Linked DNA regions of Homo sapiens: region 1 is linked to region 2. Evidence: promoter capture Hi-C in human tissues and cell types (Jung and others, 2019). All regions are on one chromosome and are shown on one strand. Each heading gives the region's core, a stretch centred on a gene start or on the middle of the fragment in contact. The rest is flanking DNA. Distances are from core to core; before and after follow the strand shown.

The links. The method cuts DNA at HindIII sites, captures the fragments that hold promoters and counts their contacts. A contact is called where the count stands out against the background at its distance.
Region 1: a fragment that was not itself captured here is called in contact with the fragment with the promoter of MSI2 in region 2 in 1 of the 25 tissues and cell types used here (spleen).

The regions. Positions count from the first base shown.
Region 1 is chr17:57,525,958-57,532,263 of GRCh38, reverse strand. It overlaps MSI2 (musashi RNA binding protein 2), which reads right to left. Exons shown (of 14, transcript NM_138962.4): 7 at 2,540-2,588. Among named protein-coding and RNA genes, the nearest start is that of MSI2-AS1, 79 kb to the left of the region's middle. RefSeq lists an enhancer at 3,624-4,456. The HindIII fragment of the contact is 6,344 bases long and covers 1-4,675 here.
Region 2 is chr17:57,255,273-57,261,527 of GRCh38, reverse strand. MSI2 (musashi RNA binding protein 2) reads right to left here and starts at 5,005. Exons shown (of 14, transcript NM_138962.4): 1 at 4,724-5,005; 2 at 4,390-4,430; 3 at 3,981-4,062; 4 at 3,174-3,258. The coding sequence starts at 4,785. LOC101927510 (a long non-coding RNA gene) reads left to right here and starts at 4,532. Exons shown (of 3, transcript XR_007065860.1): 1 at 4,532-4,586. RefSeq lists enhancers at 1,243-1,766, 2,753-2,842 and a silencer at 4,821-5,450. The HindIII fragment of the contact is 35,888 bases long and covers 1-6,255 here.

The sequences.
Region 1 (6,306 bases), core at 254-2,753, 270 kb before region 2:
CAATCATCTTTGAATAGGAGGCCCTGCCTTTCCTCTAGTTCTGGGCTCCACACATTTTAGAGTTGGTCCTGCCCCCACTGCAGGCATCTTCAGCTCTGGCAGGTCCGAGGGTGCTAGCAGAGGTTCTGGCTTGGCTGGGGGCAGGAGTGTGCATGCACCAAGGCCCTGCCCACGCTCCTTCCTGCCAGTGCCCACCAGGACTCCTGGAGAGCCAGCAATGATGTCCCGAAGCCATTCTGAGCAGCGGGCCTTCCAACAGACCATCCTCCACCTCACAACGGGCAAAAAACTCTTCCCACGCCCGTCCCAGACGAACCGCCACCCCATCTCTGCGGCCCAGCACTTTCCTTTCTCCCTTTTGGAAAAAGGGAAGAGGCTTCACCCACAGCAACAGGGATCTGGTTAAAAATAAGAGAGGACTTTTCCCGGCACATCCTCTGGGCCTTCACCCAGAAGTCCAAAGTCCGGTGTTTCAACCCCACCTCTGCCATGACCAGCCCTCTCCCTGCCCGGCTCTGAGAGTTAATGAGACGATACCAGTGTGAGCCCCCAGCACAGGGCTTGACACACAGCAGATCAAAAAATACTTTCACTGATTTTCAAAATAAAAGGACAACAGTATCACCTGGGGGCAACTCTGGAATCTCCCAGGACTATGAATTCTAACACTGAACACCAGGTGCCAAACTCAAATGGGCATCACCCACCCTGAAAATAAATAGCTGGCAGTGCTCTTTTTAACAAATGCATTCCCATCTGGACACAGCAGAGAAACAGCAGAATTTGAAATCAATAGTCCTGAGACCCTGCTCAGCCATGGGTCTCTCAGTTGCCTCCTCTGAGCCTTGGTTATTTTTCCAACCGGACGGAGGTGATGATAACGCTAATAATAAGAGCTAACATTTACGCACAATTGACTAGATGCTTGGCATTACACTCTCCGAGCAATCCTGTGAGGAGGTTCTATGATTACCCCCATCCTACAGATGAATAAACTGAGGCATAAAGAAGTTAAGTGATTTTTCCCAATGTCACAACAACCCTCCAGGGGCTGCTGTGAAGGTCACATTAGGAGATGCATCTGGAAGTCCGGCTTGGAAACCATAAAGCTAGATTGACAGAATGTGGATGATGATGGAGGATAATCCTCAATTGCCCACCACGGGCACCACCTTCATCTCACTCACTGGGCTCTCACTCCCCAGCAATGCAGTGGACAAAATCGATCATTCCACACCTGCATGCCCCTCCTTTCTCTCCCTGCTTCTCCACTGCTCCCCACCCTCCACCCCCTGCCATCTCTTCCCTCCATAAATACCACTTGACACCACTGTTGTGCACCCAATGCTCCATTCTCCCATTCTGAGGATGCTGTAGAGGGATGCATTTGAAGCCAGATTACCAGACGCACTCAGGATATCCCCCTCCTTCTCCCAGCCCCGCCAGCAATGATTCCCACTCCACTCCTTCTTGCCTTTCACTCACTCTGCCTTCTCCAAACAGGAAAGACATACAGTCAGTGCTGGGTAACTGTTTCTAATCACAGGTGACAGCAGGAATGTAAACAACACAGGAAACATCTAAATGCGATCCAAGTGGCAAGGAAATGCTGCTCACTCACAGGCTCCCTCCCTTGAGGGCACCAGCACACCATTTCCTGCCACCCCCTTAGGAAGCTCTGCTCATTAACACCCTGTTAATAGGAACCCCAGAAACCTGAGCTTCCGGAGAACAGAACACTAAGTCATCACCTCCTTTGACTCTGCTACCTCCAGGGAGGACTTTTCTAGATGCCTCCAATTTTTCTGTTTAAAGCAATAAATTTAATGTGTTCTTTTTGGGGAAGGAAGAGACTAAGGGCAGGGCCAGAGACCCTTTTGAGAATTTGTCCAAACCTAGGGATCTTCACCCAAGAAAAGTATAAACATATGACATTTTGCATGTCATTGCAGAGGTTCATAGACTCCAGGTTAAGACCCATTTTTTGTAAAGTGGATGGGACAGAAGCAGCACAGGGAAAAACACAATTAAGTACAGATGCCCTCTACACATTCCAGAGGCCCCACGGAGCATTCCCAAGGCTGTAATCACTACACACCCAACGAACCTACAATGTTTTATTTTGATTTTTTGGCTCTTTAGATTGACAGTCTGCTCCTAAAGAACCTCCTTCAATACAAATTGATAACTCAATTGAGTCACTGCTGTGAATAATTTCCACTTGGATCGCTTAGTGCCGAGGTTAGCAAGGGACCCAGAAAGGCAGGATTAGAGAGGTACATCTGAATATGTGTGTCAGGGATGGCTGCATAACTAAACAGGAGTTCCTAGGCCAGAAGGAAATGGTTTTTCAGCTATCCAGTACTGGAACTCTTTGTGCTACTGGGACTCTCCGTGAATAAAGATCTTCAATGGATGGTCACCTCTACCTGCTTGACTCTGGACTCTTCACTGTATCTTTTGTCAGTGGGACTGGGGATGACAGACAGAGAGGCCAGGAGAGGGTGAACGCAACCCTCTTACACTGGGGTAATCTTACCTCTGTGCCTGTTGGTAGTTTTATCAAACATCAGCATTGCATCTTCCACCTGCAAAACAAATATAGAATACAGGCTGCCTTAGGAATTTTAAGAAAGTACACAAAACATTATATGCATGTCGGGGGGTGAGGGGGTAGTTTCCATTACAGAAGTAATAGTTGCTTATCAAAAAATATTTGAAAATGCAAAAAAGTAGAAAGAAAAAAAAACAGTGGTCTTTCCACTCCACACCGTTGTATACAGTTAACATTTTATATAGTTCCCTTTAGTGTCTGCTTTTTATTTTTTGAGACAGGGTCTCACTCTGTCACCCAGGCTAGAGTGCAGTGGCACCATCACGGCTCACTGCAGTCTCGACCTCCTGAGCTCAAGCAATCCTCCTGCCTCAGCTTCCTGAGTAGCTGGGACTACAGGCATGTACCATCATGCCCAGTTATTTTATTTTATTTTTTTAGAGACAGGGTCCCACTATGTTGCTCAGACTGGTCTTGAACTCCTGGGCTCAAGTGATCCTCCTGCAGCAGCCTTTCAAAGCGCTGAGATTATAGGTGTGAGCCACTGCTCCAGGCCTGGAGTATTTTTTTTCTAAAGAAAGAAAAAACTATGACTATTTCAATATAGTTTAAATCATATAGTATATGGAATTTGTCCTTTTGTTAACCTGTAACATTACAATATGGCAAACAATTTCCAGGTTAGTATATCATGTATACTACTATCTTGACCGATGCATATTTCCCAGTGTAAGAAGCCATAGCTTACTTAATTATTGCCCTTCTAATAGACATGTGAATTGTTTTTAGTGATAAACAGTGAAGCTTGAACATCCTGATTGTTATGGGCTCAACTGTGTCTCCCAAAATTCATAGTTGAAGTCCTAACCCCCAGGACCTCAAAATGTGACCGTATTTGGAGAGAGGTTCTTCAAAGAAGTAATTAATTTAAAATGAGATCATTAGGGTGGGCCCTAATCCAATATGACTGGTGTCCTTATCAGAAGAGATTAGGACACAAACACAAACAGGGAAGACCATGTGCCAACACAGGGAGAAGACTGCAAGCCAAGGAGAGAGGCCTCAGAAGAAACCAACCCTGCCACACCTTGATCTTGAACTTCTAGCCTCCAGAATTGTGAGAAAATACATTTCTGTTGTTTTAGCCCTCCAATCTGCGTTACTTTATTATGGCAGTACTAGCAAACAAATACACTGATGCTAGGACCTTTTTAAAAACATCAAAGAGAAGAACATAATAAAATAGCAAAGGCGTCCTCTGTCTCTCTTGCTAATCCCTTCCAGACCCCTCCCACGCATCCTGTAACCCCTTCTGCATGTTTCTGGCAATAAGATTTCAGGGTCCACACTCAACTCCCACGTAGAGCTCAAGGAACTCACACTTAATGAACCAGATTCCGCTCTGGAATGCACTCCTTTTATGAGTATTTATGACCCACTCCTTTATCCCACAGAGCACACATCTTTAGCACAGGTGTTTGTCCTCACCCTTCAGCTACGCACCGGGGGAGGGCACCTGGTCTGACCAGTGTGCAGCCTACTCTCTTCATTTACTTTGTGCTCAAGGTTGATGGTAAAAATACAACCCAGTCCGTGTGGCTGTAGGGGGGGTAAAACTGTTAGCGGGGGGCCCTGTCCTCAGAGCAATTTCACTGTGTGCCTGTGGCTAAGAAGGACTGAGCACCGTTGATGTGCACTCAAAGGCTCACAAATGAGCTTGGGGGCTGGCGCTAATCCCTTTGAGAAAAGGAATCGTGGGCTATTCATGCCTCACTCCTCCCAGACTACAATCTCCAATGGAGGGGAAGACGCTGGGCAAAGCAATAAACCAAGGTTTAAAATGGTGCCTGCAGACAAATCAAACGTATTTTTCTAGATGCGATCAAATGTAATAGGGGGAAGAGCAAAGTCAAGGTAAGAATGGAAGATGGGGGTAGGCAAGCCGGTCATAAACCTCAAAGGGACTGGCCTGGCTTAAAAATCTCTTCTCAAGTCAGGGCCCCCTTTTGTTGCTAAGCAACCAAGCCTGAACAAACAGGCTCCTGGGGCCTTCCCCTTCTGCTCCCCATTTCTGAAGTCAGTTACTGGGAGGAAAATGGCCTGGCATGGTGGCTCCTCCAGCAGGCAGCTGCCCCCTCTCTCCCAGGCACCAGGATGATGGGAGTGGGCAATGCTAGTTTGGAGATCCCCATGCCCATCCCAGGCAGGACAAACTCCTTTTGGGCAGGCTTCAAGAGCCCCCGCCGACGGTAACCTGCTGGGGCCACACACACAACAGCCGTTCCACCTCCCGTGCACCACACAGGCAAAATCACCATAAGATCAACTGGTGTGTTTGTACACAGAGCAGTCACACTCGAGCATATGGTGATATGAGCATATCTCAGACTCAGACCCTGGGACTCAATAGGAATTCGAATGCCTGGGGTGTGGGTGGGTGGGTGGGGGATGAGTCCTGCCAGGTATCACGCAGGTAAATGTGACATCTGTTTTGCACCCATCTCCATATTTTCTAAGACTTTTGCCAAATCCTTATTTTGAACTGAAAATGCCTAACAGTAAGGAAAACAGCTGCCCTTCTGTGCTGGCCATGTTTTGGTACTGGGACTCAGATTCCCTTAGGAAATAAATGTTTTGGATTTTTTTTAAAACGTATTTTCAAAACCTCCTTTCAACAGTGCATAATTGGCTCTCCTTTTCCTTCCTAAGTTTGGACGTTTTCTAATAGCGCCCTCTCAACATTCGCTCCACCCTGGTGAGCGTGGGGGAGGATCTGTATATGTTTTTAGGGCAACCATTGTCATAAAGAATACAGCTCTTTCCTCTGTAGTCCGGCTGTACAATGGGGCTCGCAAAGACCTCCTGAATAGATAAAGTGTCAGGACGAAAGAAAAATTCTATTAACACGTTACAAAATACAACATCTAAGAAGGAGCTAGAGAGGAAAGAGAAACGGGAGAAAAATCAATATGGATAAGTCCCAGTGCTTGGGGGTAGAAAACTTTTCAGCAATTGCAAAATACTTATTAATTCAGAGAAGCCATCAATGCGATGGAAATCTGGCAGAACAGCAAGAGCTGAAACTAGAAGAATTTGAATATACAAAGACTGAATAGAATGAAAAACACAGTCTCACATACGAGACTGTTTCTCACGGTTCTATGTGAATCAAACAGAAGCGGCTTGTGTGAGTCAAGGGAAAATAAGGGGCACAGTTAAGGTAACTGGTATTCAATCCTGGAGCCAGCCAGCTGATAACTCTCTCGGTCTCTGTCTTTGTCTCTCTCTCTCTCTCTCTGTCACACACACACACACACACACACACACACACACACACACACACACACACACACCCAGGTATATCAGGGGGCTATGAAGACTCATCAACATGAACACACAGGCCAGGCCTCATTCAAGATGCTAGGAGAGCCCAAAAGCTTAGGGGAAGCTGGGAACAGGAGTTTTTCTTTTTTCTTTTTTTTCCTTTGAGACAGTCTCATTCTGTCACCCAGGCTGGAGTGCAATGGCATGATCTTGGCTCACTGCTACCCCCGCCTCCTGGGTTCAAGTGATTCTCCTGCCTCAGCCTCCTGAGTAGCTGGGATTACAGGCATGCACCACCATGCCTGGCTAATTTTTGTATTTTTAGTAGAGACGGGGTTTCACCACATTGGTCAGGCTGGTCTTGAACTCCTGACCTTGTGATCCACCTACCTTGGCCTCCCAAAGTGCTGGGATTACAGGTGTGAGCC
Region 2 (6,255 bases), core at 3,756-6,255:
GTAGCTATACCTCAAAAGATAAAAAATAATTTTTTGAAGTAAAGAAAATGAAGCATGTGAGCTAAATCCACCTGGATTTTAAAAACAACAGGGAGTAAAAATCTATAAGCAACCTAAACCCAAATTAGAAAAGAAATCCCATCATGGGGAGGGCACCAAAAAAAAAAAAAAGTTACTGAATACAAGAAGTAGTCAGAATCTAGTGCAACAAGTAGGGAATTCCCCTACCCCAACCTCAATCCGAGTGGAAAAACATCCTCCAGTCCAAATCACACACTTGCAAAACGCATGATGCTCAATCAGGGTCTAGCTGTACAGCTCAGAACAGTTCTCCTGGAAGCATGTGAATCTAACAGGCTGATGTGAGGGAGGAAAAAAGTGACTGCACAGATAAAAAGAGGAGGAAAGAAATGTGAAAATATTCCCGTTGTCGGTTTTCATTGAATTTCTAAATGTCACAAATCTTTGGGTAAAAATGTAACACAGATAGTATAAACATGCTACCAGTTATTTATTTCCAGGCTTTGGCTTTCATATTAAAATGTTTTCCTTTTAAAAAGTAAATCTGAGCTTTGTTTTCACTTCTGCCATGAGAAGGAGCAGGGGAGAAAAGAGTAATGCTGTGGAGGAAAGTAGGGAGGTGGGGGTGGGGAGTGGGAAGCACGGAGGATAGTTCATTTGTTCCCTGACTTACATCACCTAGGGTCCCAGCCAGAAAGACATATGAGGATTTCCTGCTGTTATTACGGGGGCTTAAAGACCTAATAAAAGTCTGCATTGCATTCCCTACCTTTAAACATCACCTGAGAAATGAGAGATTACTTTTCAAAAACTAAAATAGACAAAAATCTCTGATCTAGAAAACTACCCTTTCATAAAGATTAACATTACTGCATCTACAGGTGTGTCCAGCACTGACTAGCGCTTGTCTACAAGAGAAATACAACAGGTGTGGATTTTCCATTCTGTTGACGTACGTAAGACAGAGGTGTCTTTTTATAAATACTCCCCAGAGGGTGTTTTTTTTAGTTGGCCGGCACACAATTGCAATCAGAAATCACCTTGTTTATGGGGTAACAGGTGTGGGGTATGTTGAGGGAGGTGCCAGGAGCTGGAAGAAGTAAGGTGCAATGAAGAAAGTGAAGTACTAAAGAAAATTTAAATCACAAAACGAAAAAGCCAATTCAGAACTCCTGGATGGTGTGTGGCCGTATCAGAGCATTATATCATGATCGAAGTTCCTCAGTGTGCAAAGTTTACACGCTGAGATCTCTGAAGGAGAGGAAGGGTCAAGTTAAGCATGGCAAATCCCAACCTTTTGCACATCCCTGTCAACTATTTTTTAAAAAACAAACAAAAAAGAAAACTACCAAAAATTAAAACATTAGTTAGTTAGGTACAGCTCTACTTACTGTATCTACAAGTCCTCTAGGAAAAGACTAGGGTACTATTTTGGATGTGAATGGCCGTTACCTAAACAAAGCTTTTAAGGTAACAGTAAACAAGATCCTCGTTTCCATGTCAATAAACCAACCGCTTCTGCCTCCTGCACTGAACGTTGAAACAAAGTCAAAAGCTAGGTTACACTAAATAATAGTGACCAAAACATGTCTATAAACAATCAGAGAGGGAAACTGCAGGCTTTGCACCTGATACAGAGGAATATGACCCACCAGCCACCACAGAAACCAAATACTGTTTCTCCCACCCAGGTAGCAAGAGGGGGTGGATGATAAATTCCCAAATTTGCCTTGAAAAGATTTTCCTCTTTAATTTCACTAGCTTTTTGAAATGGCTAGCCACGAAATCAAGGAGAGAAAAATTTTTCAGACATCTGTTATCATCCTACAAATCATTTCTGAAATTAAATTATCTAAAAGTACAAAAGGCTGGGCTGCATGCAAGCTATGACAAGTCCAGGACAATTAATAAAGCAACTAAGAGTGTAGGTGGGTTTCTTTCTTAGGAGAAGGCACGCATTCCTGATCTCTTTGATCAGAGAAAGAGGGTGAATTTGCAAAATCAATTCAAGTGCACCGAAGGTTGCCAGGTTTCTTTATTTGCTTTCCTTCTCTTCCATTCAATGTTAAAGCCAAAAGGGGCTTGAAAGATCACCTTGGTCCACTTATTTTACAGAAGAGGAAATTGAGACCCAGAGGTAGGGAATGTCTTGCTCACTTTCATAAGAGGCGGATGGAAGTAGAGCCCCATTTCTGGCCTTGTCCCACTACCCCATCACAGAGGAGTGAAGTTCCATGCAACCCAGCACTACAGCCCAATGTCATCTTAAGGCCTCTGTTTGGGGCAGATATATATTAATAAAAACCGTGGGGAAACTCTGGTAGACATAAAGGGAAGGGAGGAGAGGCAGGAAGCCCACACAGGGGCTAAATAAAACACTGCACACTCCCCCTCCCATTAAATGTATTGTTATATACAGACACTCTTTCTTCCCTTCCCCTTCTGACCTCTGCCTGGAGACTCTTCCCCCTTCTACTCTGGATTTTTAAAACTTGTGATGTATAAAAGTACCCATACTCAAATGAAAGGATCTGAGAAAGAAAAGGAAGGAAAAAAAAATCACTTTGAAACCCCCAGGCCTTATCAGCCTTAGATTTCATGCCATCTGGAGTCACCCCAGTGGATGCCCAGCTCAGCTCCGCCAGCGTCCCCTTCCCTTCCCAAAGCACATTCCAAATCCCAAGTGCCCCAAGAGAAACCTGTTGCCTGGACCTGTAATTAGCGCCCTCTCCCCTCCTTCCCACTGCTGTCCCCCTTGGCCACAAAGCAGGCTGTGCCTTCTCAAAGCTGATCCCCACAGCCACAGTTGGTAACGCGTGCTGTGCTTGGCTGACAAAGAAAAGTTGCATTTGCTCTCTGGTGGAGTTTCTCTGCACAGTCCCCAGGCCGGGAAGGCAGACTCTCCAGGAGCCGAACCCTCTCCTCCCCAAGCCTAACCTTGGCAGCCTCTGAAGCTGCAATGGGACAGGCTCTAAAAAGAAAACCCCAAAGCCAGCCACAGCAGCAAACTTTTGAGCCAACTCGCTAGCTCAGTTTAAAACTACCCAGTTCTAGCACAGAAGCAAAAGAAGGCACTGTCCCTTTAAATGGGGCTGTCAATGCCCAGATCGTTCCTGAAAAGGGGCGAACAACAACAACAAAAAGCAACCTACCGTCTTGGAATCTAACTCATGGTGGGGCTGACCTAATACTTTATCTACACTTGCTGGGTCTGCGAACGTGACGAAACCGAAGCCTCTGAAAGGAGACAAAGAGGGAGAAAAACAAACAAGAAAATGTGACACCATTGAAAGCAACCAGGAGTGAGACCTAAGGCTGAATGAGGAGCAAAAGTTGCCCCCCACGCACCCCCACCTCCCACTCCCCTCCTCCAATTCCCCTCCTGCCTACAGCCCTCCACCTCGCAAGAAAAAACATCAAGGTTAACGGGGGAAGTGGAACGGGGGCAGGGAGGGTGGAGGTAACTTGGAAAATGCTGGTGCCTCCACTCTTTGGCCACCTCAGTTTCCTCTCCTCCTCCCCTTCCCTTTCTTAACGCTTTGTTTTATTCCGAAGAAAGCCCGGCACTTAGAAGAGATTTACCACCATCTTTCTAAGAGGGATCTTAAGAGTTTGGGGAGCTGGGAGTGTGGGGGAAACACACATTAAGATCAAAAGAAAAAAAAAAACTATGCGAAAGTAAATGAAGCTGAATGTCATTTTAAACAGAGAAAAAGAAGCGACGGGAAAATGACTTAAAAGCAGAGAGATGGGTATCTCTGTATCCAGAGTTCAGCTCCAATTAACAATAACCTCTGGGGTTACTAGGGGGCGGTGGGGGTGGTATAGAGCGCCGTTCGAGATCAGCCACGCGCCTGAGCCCCATTCTAATCCGCTTAGCTACTTCCGAAGACACCTCCAAAAATAAAACTTAAACTTTGTTCTAAAATAAAGACAAAATCCAGAAGGGAATGGTTTACCTGGAGCGTTTCGTAGTGGGATCTCTCATGACCATACATTCTCTAATTTCTCCAAATTTGCTAAAATAGTCTCTAAGGCTATCTGTAGAGAGAGAAAGAGAGAGATGGGGGGGGGAGAGAAGGTGTGGAAAAAAAAAGCAATGCAAATTTTGATCAAGGACAAAATCCAAAAGTAGTTTTCTGTTGTTATTCTGTTTTGTTTTTGCATTTTTTGCACACGCGGGGGAAATTCGGCAACAGAGGTCGCATAGAGGGCTCAGAAAGGATTTGCTATTTAAAAAAAATAACCTTGCACAGGAGAAGTGGGGAGCCAATGGCGGGGGGGGGGGGGCTCCTACACCGGGATAACAAAGAGCAATAAAGAAGCCAAGAAGGGGGGGACCCAGGCGTCCCCCCCTCCCTCCCTTACCTGGTGAGGTCTGCCAGCTCAGTCCACCGATAAACATTTTACTAGAGGGAGAAAACATAACAGAAGTGAGCACCGATGTCAGATCGGCCATTTTGACGTGTAACTTACAAAAGCTAAAAGGAAAGCGGGGGGGAGCGAGCGAGCGAGAGCCGGGAGGTGGGGTGGGGGAGAAGGTGACGGCGAAATGCAATCCAAAGGTGTGTAACTTCCACGGGGGGGGCGCGCGGGAGAGGCGGGGGGGCGCGGGAGATGCCCGGCTCCGCGCACCGCCGTCCCCGCCGCTGCAAGGAGAGCGAGCCCAAGGCGGCGCGGTGGGCAGCGGCTGGAAACTTACCCGGGGTCGTGCTGGGAGTCGTTGGCGCTGCCCGAGGTGCCTTGGCTCCCATTTGCCTCCATATCTGAGCCCCCCCGCCCCCCCACCCCCAAAAAACCAAGCCCCACAGCGATCGGAGCGGAGCGGCGGCCGGCTCCGAGCCCCGAGATCTCCGCTCCCTCCTCCCCCTCCTCCTCCCCCCCGCCCGGGCTCCTCCGAATCTCTCTGCGAGCGGCGGAGCCGGGGCAGCGGCGAGAGCCGTCACACGTGGGCTCGGCTTAGCTCAGCCCCGCTGCCTCGCACACCCCCCCGTCCCCGCCCCCCCGGCCCATCCCCACCTCTCCCCCTCCTCCTCCCCACCCCCATCTCCTCCTCCTCCTCCCCCTCCTCCCCGGCGCACGTGGGGCGGAGTTCTAGAACGTCGTGTAACCAATGCCGGTGACGTCACGCACCCCCGTGCGGCCCCCGCCTGCCCGCGCGCGCACACTCGGCCCCCCACGGCCGGACCCACAAGGGTGGCGCGCGAACCCCGCGGGCGGAGGGGACCCCGCCTCCGGGCCGGCAGGGCGCAGGGCGAGGGGGAGCGCACCCCGACTTCCCTGGATCACATGGGCTGCGGGGGGCGGGTGGATCGGGGGAGGGGAGGCGCGGGGAGCTTGCTGCGGCTCCTCACCCGGACCTGGGAGAAGACGCCCCCCACCCTCTCTAGTTCGCCCTCTCCATTCAAGTTTGCCGGCCCCTGCCGCCGAGATCCGGGAATGGCACCAGCCGCCCGCCCTCCGCTGTGCCCTGTTTCCAGCCACCGCTCAGAAATTTAGGTCAAGGACGTCGGGAGCAAACCCACACCCTGGCGCTCCTTTGGCGGCCCCCGAGACGCCCCAGGATCGGGGGGCTTCAGGATGGCGGAGACCCTCCTGCACAAACACCAGCCACAAGTTTTATTTTCCTTTTGCGCTGGAAGTTCTCTCTGGCTCTGGCTCCACACCGGCACGTCTTGCGCGGTTCCCCGCCCTTCCCCAGTAGAGGTACCAATCCGTGCCCGGGAAAGGTTATTTTGGAACTTTGAGAAACTGACGCGATTCCAGTGGCGAGAAAGTGCCGAAGAAAGGGTTTCCGCGTTAATCATACAGTGTTTTAAAAATGTAATAAGATAGGTTATAGGAGTCAAGGTCACATGATTGAGGTTCAAAGCAAATGTTTGTATATAACGAGAAGTACTTTTGGGGTGTCTCTGGGATGGATGGGAAGGGTGGTTATTTCAGGAAACCCCTGTGTAATCCGTTCGTTATATATTTTATTTCTCACCCAGCCTTTGTATGCCAGGATAGTAAAGTGCATGATACTGAAATAGCCCAAGACCCCTCACGACCTGCAGAGGTAGCTAGGGTGGCAGAAGGCTTCAGAATCACTCCCACCTTAGCAGCAGTAGTATTGTGCAGCACGGGTTCTGGCATACAGTAGGTGCTTAATAAATGCGGTTTCATACCTTCATGCACTGAAAACTCCAAAAAGACAATGTCTGTAGCCTTCCAAAGGCATCGCATGAAAGTTTC